Regions from separate parts of the Homo sapiens genome. Here regions 1, 2, 4 and 5 are each linked to region 3. Evidence: promoter capture Hi-C in 16 types of primary human blood cells and fetal thymus (Javierre and others, 2016). All regions are on one chromosome and are shown on one strand. The core of a region is centred on a gene start or on the middle of the fragment in contact, and the rest is flanking DNA. Distances in the headings are between cores, read along the strand shown. Region 1 overlaps OSBPL8 (oxysterol binding protein like 8). Region 2 overlaps LOC105369850 (a long non-coding RNA gene). Region 3 holds the start of GLIPR1 (GLI pathogenesis related 1). Region 4 holds the start of E2F7 (E2F transcription factor 7). Region 5 overlaps ZDHHC17 (zDHHC palmitoyltransferase 17).

Region 1 (2,700 bases), core at 155-2,654, 1.0 Mb after region 3:
AGTTCAAGCAATTCTCGTGCCTCAGCCTCCCAAGTAACTGGGACTACAGGCATGTGCCACCACACCTGGCTAATTTTTGTATTTTTAATAGAGACAGGGTTTCGCCATTGTTGCCCAGGCTGGTCTTGAACTCCTGAGCTCAGGTAATCCACCCATCTCGGCCTCCCAAAGTTCTAGGATTACAGGTGTGAGCCACCATGCCTAGCTAGCTATCTGTAATTTTCATATCATTTAAAGTATCTGTAATTCTCAAGGAGTTAAAGCATTATTTTAAAAATACTTTTTAAAAGTTTGTTGTTAATATATTTTAAAAACAAAACCCTAGCTTACATCAAACACTTCACAGTTACAGATGATAGAACCTATGTCATATATGAACTACTCACCGAAGTTCGATCAGGTTCTCCATCTGCCAAACCTCCCTCCATAATGAAAGAAGATAGGTTTATGCTTCTCTTTCCATTAATGTGCAGCCATTCTGTAAATCTGCAAATCCTAAAATAAGAAAATGATATTTATTAGGACTGGTATAAAACTGTGACAAGTAGAAATAAAGCATTGAGTTTGTTAGAAGGGAAAAATCATTTTAGTCTGAGGTTATTTGGAAATTCAATAATTAAAAAAAAAATTGACATGGGCTTGAAGAATGGTAAAGGTTCAGAGAAAAATGAAAGAAGAAAAAAATATTCCAAGTGAAGAAAAATAGTAAGAGCAAGGTTAAACATGAGACTGCCTAAAATTTGAAAGGATGCATAAATCTACTTACAACTAATGAAATAAATTAGTTTTTCATTATTACATTGGTAAAAACTAAAAAGTATGCTAAAATCCATCATGGGAGAGAATGTGGGGAAACAGATATTCTCATGTACTTTTGTTATGAGAATATAAATCAGGACAATTTTTTGAAGGACAATTAAAAATATGTATGTTTTAATCCAGCAATTTCAAGACTAGAAATTTTCCCACAGATATACAAATGCCCAGAAATATATAAACAATTCCAACACAGTAATAAATCTGATGAAAAAAACTAGAAACAACTTAAATGTTGATGGCTAGAAGCTTCCTTAAATTATATTACAGACATACAATAGAATATCATGCAGCAATTTTAAAAAATGAAGTAGATCTATATATACTAAACTGGAAAGAGGATCACAACACATAAGGTGGGAAATGTGAGTGATGGAACATTTTATATATATAAGATACTCTTTGCTTCTGTATATTTCCATTTTTACCATGAATATGTATATCTACAGGCATGCCTTGTTTTATTGTGTTTCGCTTTACTGCACAAAGAGATACTGCCTTTTTTACAAAATGAAGGTTGGTGACAGCCTTGCAGCAAGTAAGTCTATCGGTACTTTTCCAACAGCATGTGCTCACTTTGTGTCTCTGTGTCATAGTTTGGTAACTCTCAAATATTTCAACCCTTTTCATTAAAGTATCTGTTCAGCAATCTGTGATCAATAATCCTTGATATTACTATTGTAATCATTTTGGGGCACCACAAACTGCAGCCATATAAAACAAGTAACTGAACTGATAAATGTAGGAGGTTTTGACTGTTCCACCCATCTGCCATTCTCCCATTTTCTCTTTCTCCCGGCTCTTCTCTATTCCATCAGTCACAATAATATTGAAATTAGTCCAATTAATAACACTACAAAGGCCTCTAAGTGTTCAAGTAAAAGGAAGACCCACATATTTCACTTTAAATCAAAAGCTAAAAATGATTAAGCTTAGTGAGGAAGGCATGTCAAAAGCCAGAAGCATGGCCTCTTACACCAAACAGCCATGTTGTGAATGCAAAGTAAAAGTTCTTGGAAGAAATTAAAAGTCCTATTCCAATGAACACACAAATAAGAAAGCAAAACAGCCTTATTGCTGATATACAGCAAGTTTGAGTGGTCTGGATAGAAGATCAGGCTAATTATATAGGCAAGGCCCTAACTCTCTTCAATTCTATACAGGCTGAGAGAGGTGAGAAAGCTGCAGAAGAGAAGTTTCAAGCCAGCAGAGGTTGGTTCATGAGGTTTAAGGAAAGAAGCCATCTCTATAACATCAAAATGCAAGGTGAAGTAGCAAGTGCTACTTGGAGAAACTGCAGTAAGTTATCCAAAAGATCTAGCTAAGATCATTGATGAACATGGCTACACTAAACAACAGGTTTTCAATATAGATGAAATAGCCTTCTATTAGAAGATGCCATTAAGGACTTTCATATCTAGAGAGGAGAAGTCAATGCCAGACTTCAAAGCTGCAAAGGACAAACTGACTCTCTTGTTAGGGGCTAATGCAGCTGGTGGTTTGAAGTTGAAGCCAATGTTCATTTACCATTCCAAAAATTCTAGGGCCCTTTCAAGAATTATGCTGTAACTACTCTGCCTGTGCACTATAAATAAAACAACAAAGCCTGTATGATAGCACATCTGTTTACAGCATGGTTTACTAAAATTTTAAGCTCACTGTTGAGACTACTGCTAAGAAACAATATTCCTTTCAAAATATTACCACTCACTGACAATGCACTTGGTCACCCAAAAGTTCTGGTGGAGATGTACAAAAAGATTAATGTTGTTTTCATCTCTAACGCAACATCTATTCTGCAGTCCATGAATCAGGGAGTAATTTTAACTTCCATGTCTTATTATTTAAGAAATACATTCAGTAAGGCCATAAGCTGCCAGAGAT
Region 2 (2,700 bases), core at 150-2,649, 1.1 Mb after region 3:
CATACCATTTATACAAGTTTATTCTCTTCTGCTATCTTAGCCTGGCTTCTTCCCTGAAATCGGAGTCTGAGACAATAACTTCTGTGCGGATAGTTGATTTTGGGAAGAGATCCCAGTGAATAGGAGTGAGGGGCTAGGAAAATTAAGACATGAAAGGAAGGAAAGCTAACTCAAGAATACATTAATCAATCTGAACATTGTTGTAGGTAACTCAGGCTCATTTCTCTGGATCTTTGAATAGCTACCTAGAATTGTCTGCCTTCCCCCAATGTGGCAGACATATCCTAAGGTAACCCCCAATGATCTCTGCCTTCTGGTATTAATGACCTTCTTTATGCCCCTCACCGTAAGACTGGGTAGAACTTGTGAACTGCTTCCAGCCAGAAGAATAAGGCAAAGGTGATAGGATGTTACTCCCATGATGTAATGTAATACATGCATTACAATATATGACAAATGTGATGGGATATCACTCCCATGATTATGTTATATTATGTAAGAATCTGTCTTGATAGCCGACTCACTCTCTCACTTTCCTGCTGGTCTTGAAGAAACAAGTTGTCATGTTATGAACTGCCTATCGGAGAGGACCATGTGGCAAAGAACTCAGAGGTGGCTTGTAGAAGCTGAGAGCCAACAGAAACAAAACAAAACAAAATCTTGAAGCTCTCAGTCCTGTGACTGTAAGGAAATGAATTCTCCCAACAACTTGAGAGAGTTTGGAAGAAGATTCTTCTTTCTTCAGGCTTTCAGATGGGAACATGGTCCAACCAACACCTTCACTGTAGCCTGGAGAGACCCCAAAGTAGAAAACCCAACTAAGGTGTATCTGGACTCCTGACCTACAGAAAGAGAGATAGTAAATGTGTGTTATTTTAATGTGTTCAACTTGTGTTAATTTGTTACATCGAATTGGAAAACTAATAGAGATTTTGGTGCCTAGAGGTAGAATGCTACTGTAATAAATATGTAAAAATATGTCTGTGGCTTTGAAACTGATCAGTGGACAGAGACTAGAAGAATGCTTGAAAAGTATGATAGACAAATCCCAAATCACTGCGAACAAACTCTCAGTAGAAATGTGGATATTGAAGACTGCTGTTGAGGACTCAGAAGGAAGTAAGGAACATGCTATAGGAAACTGGAAGAAGGGAGATCCTTGTTATGTACTGGCGTAAAGCTTAGTGAAATTATTTCTTGCAATTACGTTGAAAGCAGAACTTGTAAATGGATGAATTTGGTTATATAGTTAAGGAGATTTCCAAGCAAAGTGTTGAAGGGGACAACTGGTTTCTTCTTGCTACTTACAGGAAAATTCAAGAAAAGAGACAAATTGAGAGAAGAACTATTAAGCAAAAAGGAATCAGGACTTGATAATTTAAAAAATCCTCATCTTCCCCAGATGGCAAAAAATATTAACAGTTGGAGATGGCTTTTGGGCACTGTCAGAAAAGCCTACTCTAGAGAAAATGCACTTGAAGTTACTCTATAATCTTTTTTAAAGCCCCCAAAAGATCAAAGGTCAGAGTACTCAGGGGTATTTCAAGATACGGCCCTTAGATTTGAAAAGATCTAAGGGTATGCCTCAGATCCTCTCAATCACACTATTGAGCCTCTAGGAAGCTTAAAGGAGATGGAATTATTTTTGAAACAATCTGTAGATGTGGCCTTTGTCTGATAAGAGTGAATGCCACTGAAATACAGAAAGAACCACAACATTCTTGAGAAAATTATTTCTGCAGAAACAGTGCCAACTTGGAATAAGACAGACAGAAAGACTAGAAAATGAAAAGAGGCTGTCAGACCTCCAAAATTTTACTGGCAGAAAGCAGGCTGATAAAACTACTCATCTGCAAACACATGCTACCTTCCATGAAAAAGGAAGAATGACTCAGATGGTGGAACCAAGAACCCAGAAAGCAGAGCCAAGAGCCATGAAGAATCATTCCCAAGCCTAGAAACTTAATTAAGGAACTTCCAATAAATCCAGTTGTATTTCAAAACTGCTATAGACTAGTGACTCCTTTTTACTACCCATTTCCCCTATTTTTAAACTGGAATGTCTATAGCTATTATCCTGTGTCTGTCCCACCATTGTATGTTGGGTGTGTTGGAGGCAGATAACTCATTTCCTTGGTTTCAGAGGTCCATAGTTAGAGAATAATTGTGTCCAGGAGCTTTACTTAACAGGTTATACGTAGGAGGCTCATCTGCACCTGGACTTGATTCACATGATGAAATTTTAGAATTTGAGCTGATGCTATAATGAATGAAACTCTTGGGAACTGATATGGTTTGTCTCTGTGTCCCCACCCAAATCTCATCTTGAATTGTACTCCCACAATTCCCATGGGTTGTGGGAGGGGCCCTGGTGGGAGATAATTTGAATTATGGGGGAGGTTCCCCCATACTGTTCTCATGGTAGCAAATAAGTCTCACGATATCTGATGGTTTTATCAGGGGTTTTATCAGGGGTTTCCACTTCTGCATCTTCTTCATTTTCTCTTGCCGCCGCCATGTAAGAAGTACCTTTCACCTCTCAGCATGATTCTGAGGCCTCCCCAGCCATGTAAGTCCAATTAAACCTCTTTTTCTTCCCAGTCTCAGGTATGTCTTTATCAGCAGTGTGAAAACGGACTAATACAGGAACCTTGGAAGGGGAGAAACCATATATTTCATATGGGAGGGCCTGAGGAAAGA
Region 3 (2,700 bases), core at 115-2,614:
TTACTTTTTGTTTGCATTAGAAATATTTCCCCACCTCATTCCATTTTCCATCTCTCTTAATTTTCTAAAATACACGTGTTTTCTAAAACCAGGTCTAAACCCCACCTACAGCTAAAATCCTCCAATAACTTCCCATGACTTTGGTGATAAAATAAAAAATCATTAGCAGAATTGAGAAATCCTTCCTGATCTGACTCTTAACTTCTCTCCCCCAAGTGGCATGAAAGCATCATTTGGATTCTGAATTCCATGACACCAGGTATCAAGTTTTCTACCAGTCAGAATCACTACTTATTTACAGACCATATTTACAGAGGGAGACAATATGGAGAGGTTCTTGCTCTATTCTTGCCATAACACCATGTCTTCAATTTCACAACTAGATATATAGTTCCTATCCCTCTAATTCCCTTCTCCTCTCCAGCGCTTTTTCACTTGATCAACACCTAGCTGATTCTAGCCTCAGCAAAGACCTCACCTGCTGTATGTAGGCCGGCTCTGCCGTTTCCAGAATGGGTTAAGTATGCTCTCTTGTGTGTCCATATCTACCTGTGCTTTCCTATATCCAGATCTCCAACAGCCCCTGTTGTAACATCCTTGTCATCACCATCTCACAGCTCTTACCACTGTAAGCTCCTTGGGGCCAGTGACTGTGTTTTTATTTCTGTATTACTAAGGTGAATATACAAGGCAGGAATTTAATATTAGCTAGTTCATTTGATCCTGCCAAACCTCTGTAATTAAGGAAGCAGAAAAGGTCCCATAGTCTCATTCAATAGGTGGCTGAGGTTTAGAGAGTTTTGTATCCTGTCCAAGGTCTTACAGCTAGTTAGAAACAGAAACTAAATTCTCAACTTGAGTCCTGTATTCTTTCTACTATTCTCCCTCTCAATCCCTCTCTCTCTTTCTCTCTCTCTCTCTTTCTCTCCCTCTCTCTCTCTCACACACACACACACACACACACATACACGCTTACATGTTTCTACCATCGTGAATGAATTCTAGGTCAAGTTTATGATGTTAACCAGATATTCCAACCACTATGTGTTGATATGACTCTAAAAAGAAAAAGATTTCTGAAAGCATTTTGCGAGGCATTTATAGAAGTAAGAGATATTTTCATTTTATCACCGCAACCTCCATTAAAAATTGGAGACTATTATTCCTGGAGACTTCAGAATTTTCTTTGGAAATATCTCCCAATTCAAAAGGAAGTCTGACACAGCCTCATAAAAATCTATGTCGTAATAGGTGCTGTGTCACTGAAAACCACTGAAAAGACAGGGTTAAGAACACAAAGTGAGCTGCACACCATATATGGAGAAACCCGTTTCTTAAAACTAGTGATGAACTCATGCTCTGTTCTGTTTTCTCAAAGCTGAAGTCGGCTAGGTTTGCAAAGCTGTGGGCTGAGCACTCAGGCAATCACACTCTCAGAAACTGCGGCGGCTCTGGACTGCAGCCTCCCAAGGCTCCATGCCAGACAAAGCATGCGTGTCACACTTGCTACAATAGCCTGGATGGTTTCTTTTGTCTCCAATTATTCACACACAGCAAATATTTTGCCAGATATCGAAAATGAAGATTTCATCAAAGACTGCGTTCGAATCCATAACAAGTTCCGATCAGAGGTGAAACCAACAGCCAGTGATATGCTATACATGGTAAGGAAAATATCATTAATTGTGGCGTCAGTCAGTCAGAAACAACTAATGTGTATTGACTTTGGTGTTAATACCTTCGTAATACTGAATGATTTTTTTTTCATTGTGATTAATGTATGCAGTAAATTCACAGTCTGTGATCAAAACACATCCAGTTTAGCTCTGTCTACCCAACTGTTGTTATAAGCAAGTGCCACAGCACATTTTACTTCTCTTTGGACACTTCCTGTTTTCTGGTTTTCAGTGGATTTTACTTCTCTTTTTGTTATCTTCCTCCCTGTTAATTTTTGTGATTTGGTTTTCTTTTTTTTTTTTTTTTTTTGTCTCTAAATTTACTTTTTTTGCTGCTGACAAAGTACTGAGTTGCTCAGGTAGGCAGAATGGCATCTGGGGAAAGGATGGGATTTTGATTCAGTAAGGCTTGGGATTGAATTTCAGATCTGTGGCTTTAAGCTGGTTTTTAACCTTTCTGAACTTCTTAGGATATGGGCTGTTGTGGTTATGGAATAATGTTGTGAAACACGGCACACACTATTTTGCCCACAATTAGCCTTCAGTGAAATGTCAGTTTTCCTCACTTAGATTCTAAATTCCATGAAACTAAATTGTCACGTTTCCTACCAGCCCTACTCAGTGCTTGAAGACCATATTTATAGAGGACTCATATGCAGTGGTATCTTCTCTCCTTATCTCACCTCGTTTTCCATTCAAATTCCCACTGTACTCACCCCAGTTACATTTCAGATGAACCCCCTATTGTTTAATGTTTATTTTTGCAGACTTGGGACCCAGCACTAGCCCAAATTGCAAAAGCATGGGCCAGCAATTGCCAGTTTTCACATAATACACGGCTGAAGCCACCCCACAAGCTGCACCCAAACTTCACTTCACTGGGAGAGAACATCTGGACTGGGTCTGTGCCCATTTTTTCTGTGTCTTCCGCCATCACAAACTGGTATGACGAAATCCAGGACTATGACTTCAAGACTCGGATATGCAAAAAAGTCTGTGGCCACTACACTCAGGTAAGGATCTG
Region 4 (2,700 bases), core at 37-2,536, 1.6 Mb after region 3:
AGCCAGCATATTTTTGACTTATATAAATTGGTTACAACATTACATGTAACCTTGCCTATTTTTCCCACTATATCTGAGAGTAGAATTCCAACAATAATGGTTTGGATGGCTCTATTTTTAAAAAAGAATGTTTCTATAATGTTTATCAATATTAATTATTATGCTTAAATACAAATACAAATGGCATGTTGGAACACTTAATTGAATTCAACATCACCATCCTTAACATATTAGAAACTAAGGTGTTTATGTTTGCTTACCTTTTGTGCATTTTCCCCATCTTCAACTGCAAAATCTAGTCTGGGCTGCCTGGGGCTGATCAGGTCTTTTAGTGTTAAACAATTTACCTCCATCTGTAATGCACAATTACACTAGAAAATGATTTTGCAATTAGGTATTTTTTCCTCAAACAAAAATATCTACATATGTGTTACTTGTTTGTCAATATGAAATTCCCCCTTCTCTAAGCACATCCTGGGCATTTCCAGGAGTTGTAGCCACCCTCAACTTTCTAAAACTCACGCGAACAAACTCAAACACCTAAAGTGTGCTTAGTAATACTGAAAATCTGGGAAGAAAAAAATCTACAAAAATAGTAACTCCTTATGAAAAGCTAGATGGCAAAATAAAGTTACCAAGTCGGAAGGGTGTTGGGCAAATCTGTCAGAAAAGTACAGGGTCTCCCAGGTCAGTTAATTTTGGCGCAAAGAACTGAGAGGAATTCGGCTTTGAGGGGTTTTGAATCGGGGGAAGGAAACCCGATCGCTAGACCAAACCCACTCAGCGCTGAGCGCAGCCCCTTCCCAGGCCTCCAAGCAGATCCCCCAAATAAACTTCTCCAATGAAAGCTCCAAGTTGTGGGGAAGGGCAAATCCCCTCTACTGCCGGGCCGGAGTGAGAGCTGCACCCGGCACACCCTCTGCGCACCGGGTTCCCCGGCAGAAACACCTCGAGCCCTCGCCAGCCGGGGGACGTGAGGAGTGGCAGGCTGGCAGCCGGGGCGGGAGTGGGCCCTGTATCCCAATTCCCGCCTCCCCACTGGCGCTGGGGCCGCACGCTTACCCCTGCTTTCCTAAGGAGGCTTCCTGCCTCTGCAGGGACCTCCACGGACCCAAGCCGATGAGGGAAGGTGGTGCGGCGATCAGCAGCCGGGCGGCGGCATCGGGAAGGGAGAGCGAGGCGCGCAGATCCCCGCGCCGAGTGCCCTGGGCTGGCGGGGACCCCGCGGCGTCCGGGCAGCGCCAGCGCTCAGACCGGCCGAGCGCAACTCCAGCCTGGATCGTAGTCCCCGCTAAAACACCTCCTCTGGCGCCTTGAGACCGAATTTGAGAATCCACCAATCAGCGGCGGCCGGCGGGGCGGCCCCGGCCAATCGTGCGGCGGCACGGCCCGGGCTCACCGCCCCTCGGAGTCTTGGCGCTCCGAGCCGCGCGTTTTGCCCTCACCCGCCCAATTGTTGCCGCCTCGGCCCCCTCCCCCTTCCGGGTACCTGGAAACCTCGGGCCCGGGAGCCAATTCCTGCTGGGGACGCGGGCCCCGGCGGCCGCGGGAAGCCAAGGTGGGGGCGGCGCGGGGCGGCGCGGGGCGGCGGGAGAAGGAAGAGGAGGAGGAGGGCTCTTTTGTTATGCATAGAAGACCCGCGCACGTCCCCGCGGCTTGCCGCGCCCGGGGACCCCGGGCACAGCCAGAGGACAGGAAAGCAGATGGGGTTTGGAAGAACGATCTACACCCTCTGGATGCTGCTGCCGCCATCCCCGCCCGCCCTCAGCAACCTGTGCGGAAGCGGAGTTGTCCAGACTTGCCGGGGCAAACTTCTTAACATCGCACGCTGGTGTGACACATGAACCATGGTTACCGCTCTGCTGCGAGCAGATGGCACGCCAGTTAGCCCTGGAGACAAGACTGGAAGCCAAACCAGAAGTTTTTCTAACTTTTTTTTGTTTGTTTGTTTTGTGTGTGTGGCAAATCCGGAAATGTTTTTTGGTGTTCCCTTTTCGGCAAATTGCAAATAATTAGGAGGGAAAAAGCTTTATATAAAAAAGTAGTTCTTTGCAATAGGGACTAGCATTCTGGGAGACAGTCTAGAAAATTTCCTCAACACCACTGATCTGTATTAAATGTTTCACTTCTTTCATCCTACAGTTTCTTGTTTAAAATATGAATGTTGGTAGAGATGGACTTTTTACAAAACAGACTTTATTGTTTAGAAGTTTTCAATTTACAGAAAAATTGAGATAGTACCAAGAATTCCCATATATTCAGCACCCAATTTCACCCACTATTAACATTTTGTGTTAGTATAGAATATTTTTTGAAATTAATGATCTAATATTGGTACATTCTTCTGAGCTCAAGTCATTACTTTATTCAGATTTACTTAATTTTTTCCTAATGGCCCTTTTTTCTGTTCAGGATACCACATTACCTTTAGTTCCTATGTCTCTAGGCTCCTCTTGGCTATGACAGTTTCTCATACTTTCCTCATTTTTGATACCTGGACATTTTTGAGTAGTATTGGTCAAGTATTTTGTAAGATATCCCTCAACTGAAATGTGAGACAGCCTTCTTAAAGCATCAGACATTCTTAAATGTACAGACATGTCCCTACCCCCCATCTACTTTACAGCAAAGGTATCATTTTCCTTTCTATACCAAGACTCCATTCTTCACCACTTACCCTCCAAATATTTTTATTTTATT
Region 5 (2,744 bases), core at 193-2,692, 1.3 Mb after region 3:
AAAGAGATGGGATCTTGCTCTGTTGCCCAGGAGTGCAGTGGTGTGATCACAGTTTACTGTAGGCTCAAGTGATCCTCCCACCACAACCTCCTGAGTTGCTGGGATTACAGGTGTGTGCCATTAAGCCTGGCTAATTTTTTTTATTTTTATTTTTATTTATTTTTGAGACAGAGTCTTGCTCTGTCGTCCAGGCTGTAGTGCAGTGGCACGATCTGGGTTGAAGTGAATCTCCTGCCTCAGCCCCCTGAGTAGCTGGGATGGCAGGCACCTGCCACCATGCCTGGCTAATTTTTGTATTTTAGTAGAGATGGGGTTTTACCATGTTGGTCACACTGGTCTTGAACTCCTGAACTCAAGCAGTCCACCCGCCTCGGCCTCCCAAAGTGCTGGGATTACAGGCATGAGTCACTGTGCCTGGCCTTTTTAATTTTTATTTTTAGAGACAGTCTCACTATGTTCCTCAGGCTGGTCTCAAACTCCTGGCCGCATGTGGTCCTTCCCCATCAGCCTCATGAGTTGTGGGGATTATAGGTATGCACCACTGCACCCAGCTGAATTTTTCTAGCTTGGACATTTTGATAGTTAGAAATGCCTTCTAGTAAATAGCACAGGAAAGGTGGAAGTATAAATTTTGGGGATGGTGGAAAGGAAAAAAAAATCTTTAGATGATCTTCTAAAATTGCATATCTAATTCTGTTACTTCCTTCCTCAAAACTCCCTGATTGATCTCCGTTGCCTGCTGAACTAGATGCCTAAATGTCTTTACTTATTCTCAGTCGAAGATGGGGTTTTTGCACTTCTCCTAAGAGATAGTTTACAATACTTCTTAGGATTTTCAGTTACGTATCTTTGCCATTCAAATTACATTTTGGTAATTACATTTAGATAATTTACATGTGCACTTGATGCAAACATTTAAAAAACCAAAATAAAACAACTTAAAATACTTGAAGGTACTTCTTCCTTGAAATTTTCCAGAGTCGTTTTATGTCTGCCCTAGTTTTTTGGGCCCTAATGGAAATGTCACCACGACTTGAGTGTGGGCTGCTGATAAGAACAGTTGGCCTGTGGTAGAGAAGGGAGGTCAAGGGGAAGAGTGAAGGTCACTTTCATAATATTATCATCAACTAGGAGATACATAAAAATAATACTGGTCATAATCTTTACAGGATGAAATCGAGAATCTCCAATGAAATATTAAATTGGCCATATTCTATAATGTAACAGCCTGTTGGCATTTTTATGCCCAATCAAGTGGGCATTTTTATCCATATACAGTGTTATGCATTCCCTGGAATATATTTGAATAAGGATGATTGAACAGCTTTATGATGAAGAAACACTAAATACATTGACTATTAAAAAATGGAGGAAAAATAATAGGAAATAAGGAAGTATTCTCATTTTACTTTTCCAATATTGCATTTGATGTTTTTGCCAATGCCATCGGCCATAGAGTGAAAACACACACTCTGTCTCTCCCTCTCTCTCTCTCTCTCTCTCTCTGTCTCTTGTGTGTGTGTGCGCGCGCAGGAGAGTTGATGGTATTCTTACAGTATTCAAAGGTATCTAAAATCAGAGATGATATTTTAACATTGTGGCTGGATATAAGATAAATCTGTGAACATTAGTAGTAAAACCATATACTAGTTATAACCAGCTCCAAAATACAATGAAAATGATTTATATAGATCCATTTACACACTACTTACCAAACTAAACAACTCTCAGAATCATATTAGTCCGGATAAGCTATGTTTTGCTGCAGTAACAACCCTAAATTTCAGTGGCTTAGCTGAGTGTGGTTGTGTGCACCTGTACTACCAACTACTCAGGAGGCTGAGACAGGAGGATTGCTTGAGCCCAGGAGTTCCAGGCTGTAGTGGTGATGATCACGTCTGTGCATAGCCACTGTACTCTAGCCTGGGCAACATAGTGAGACCCTGTCCCTTAAAAAAATGTTAGTAGTTATGCTACACATACATTGTGGGTGGGATAGTAGGTTTTCTATCCAGTGATTATCTCTACTCTCTAGAAGATTGCCAGTCTCCTTGGCAGATGGAAAGAGAGACTGGGGAATTGCATGTTGGCTCTTAAACTTGTTCTCTGAAAGCAACAGATCCTTTTTATTCATATTCCATTGGTTAAGATCACATGGTCAATCACTTGGACACACTTATCTTTCAAAGGGCCAAGGGTGTACAGTTCAACTTTGTACCTGAGAAGAGAACTGAAAATATTTCATGAATAGCACTAATAATTGTAGCAGTATTGAAATATAAAAATGAAAACCAAAAAAGCACAAGGAAAAGATTAATACATGTGACTATAAAGGGTATAATCTCTGAATTATATTGAAAGCATAAATGAACAGTTCTAAACATGGAAGTCTTTAGATCAGTATGAAAAAGATTAATCTATATATAAAAGTGTAATACAAATATATTAAGCAGATTTCAGGAGTCAAGTACAATAAAATGACCAAAAGATATGAACAGGTAATTCCCAAAAGATGAACTAGGATAGGAAAATATATTTAAGTTGGAATCGCAATTTTTTTTTTTTTTTTTTTTTTTTTTGAGCAGAGTTTCGCTCTTGTTGTCCAGGCTGGAGTGCAGTGGCATGATCTCTGTTCACTGCAACCTCTGCCTCCCGGGTTCAAGCGATTCTCCTGCCTCAGCCTGTCGAGTGGCTGGGATTACAGACATGCACCACCACGCCCAGCTAATTTTGTATTTTTAGTA

The links. Contacts are between HindIII fragments. The CHiCAGO score rates a contact against its expected background, and 5 or more counts as called.
Region 1: a contact is called between a fragment that was not itself captured here and the fragment with the promoter of GLIPR1 in region 3, in 1 of 17 cell types (naive B cells). The highest score is 5.1, in naive B cells.
Region 2: a contact is called between a fragment that was not itself captured here and the fragment with the promoter of GLIPR1 in region 3, in 2 of 17 cell types (M0 macrophages and monocytes). The highest score is 5.9, in M0 macrophages.
Region 4: the fragment with the promoter of E2F7 here is called in contact with the fragment with the promoter of GLIPR1 in region 3 in 1 of 17 cell types (fetal thymus); the score reaches 5.3 in fetal thymus.
Region 5: a contact is called between a fragment that was not itself captured here and the fragment with the promoter of GLIPR1 in region 3, in 2 of 17 cell types (total B cells and naive B cells). The highest score is 11.7, in total B cells.

The regions. Positions count from the first base shown.
Region 1 is chr12:76,487,124-76,489,823 of GRCh38, forward strand. OSBPL8 (oxysterol binding protein like 8) reads right to left here. Exons shown (of 24, transcript NM_020841.5): 2 at 387-495. The coding sequence starts at 428. Among named protein-coding and RNA genes, the nearest start is that of OSBPL8, 71 kb to the right of the region's middle. The HindIII fragment of the contact is 682 bases long and covers 1,064-1,745 here.
Region 2 is chr12:76,589,830-76,592,529 of GRCh38, forward strand. The region is part of intron 3 of LOC105369850 (a long non-coding RNA gene); the gene reads left to right. Among named protein-coding and RNA genes, the nearest start is that of OSBPL8, 31 kb to the left of the region's middle. The HindIII fragment of the contact is 443 bases long and covers 1,179-1,621 here.
Region 3 is chr12:75,479,391-75,482,090 of GRCh38, forward strand. GLIPR1 (GLI pathogenesis related 1) reads left to right here and starts at 1,365. Exons shown (of 6, transcript NM_006851.3): 1 at 1,365-1,664; 2 at 2,444-2,689. The coding sequence starts at 1,491. The HindIII fragment of the contact is 5,495 bases long and covers 1-2,700 here.
Region 4 is chr12:77,064,283-77,066,982 of GRCh38, forward strand. It overlaps E2F7 (E2F transcription factor 7), which reads right to left and starts at 1,287. Exons shown (of 13, transcript NM_203394.3): 1 at 1,063-1,287; 2 at 261-353. The coding sequence starts at 353. RefSeq lists silencers at 1,127-1,176, 1,197-1,626 and enhancers at 1,235-1,941, 1,677-1,906. The HindIII fragment of the contact is 4,360 bases long and covers 1-2,025 here.
Region 5 is chr12:76,786,136-76,788,879 of GRCh38, forward strand. All of the region lies in intron 1 of ZDHHC17 (zDHHC palmitoyltransferase 17), which reads left to right. Among named protein-coding and RNA genes, the nearest start is that of ZDHHC17, 23 kb to the left of the region's middle. The HindIII fragment of the contact is 5,143 bases long and covers 1-2,744 here.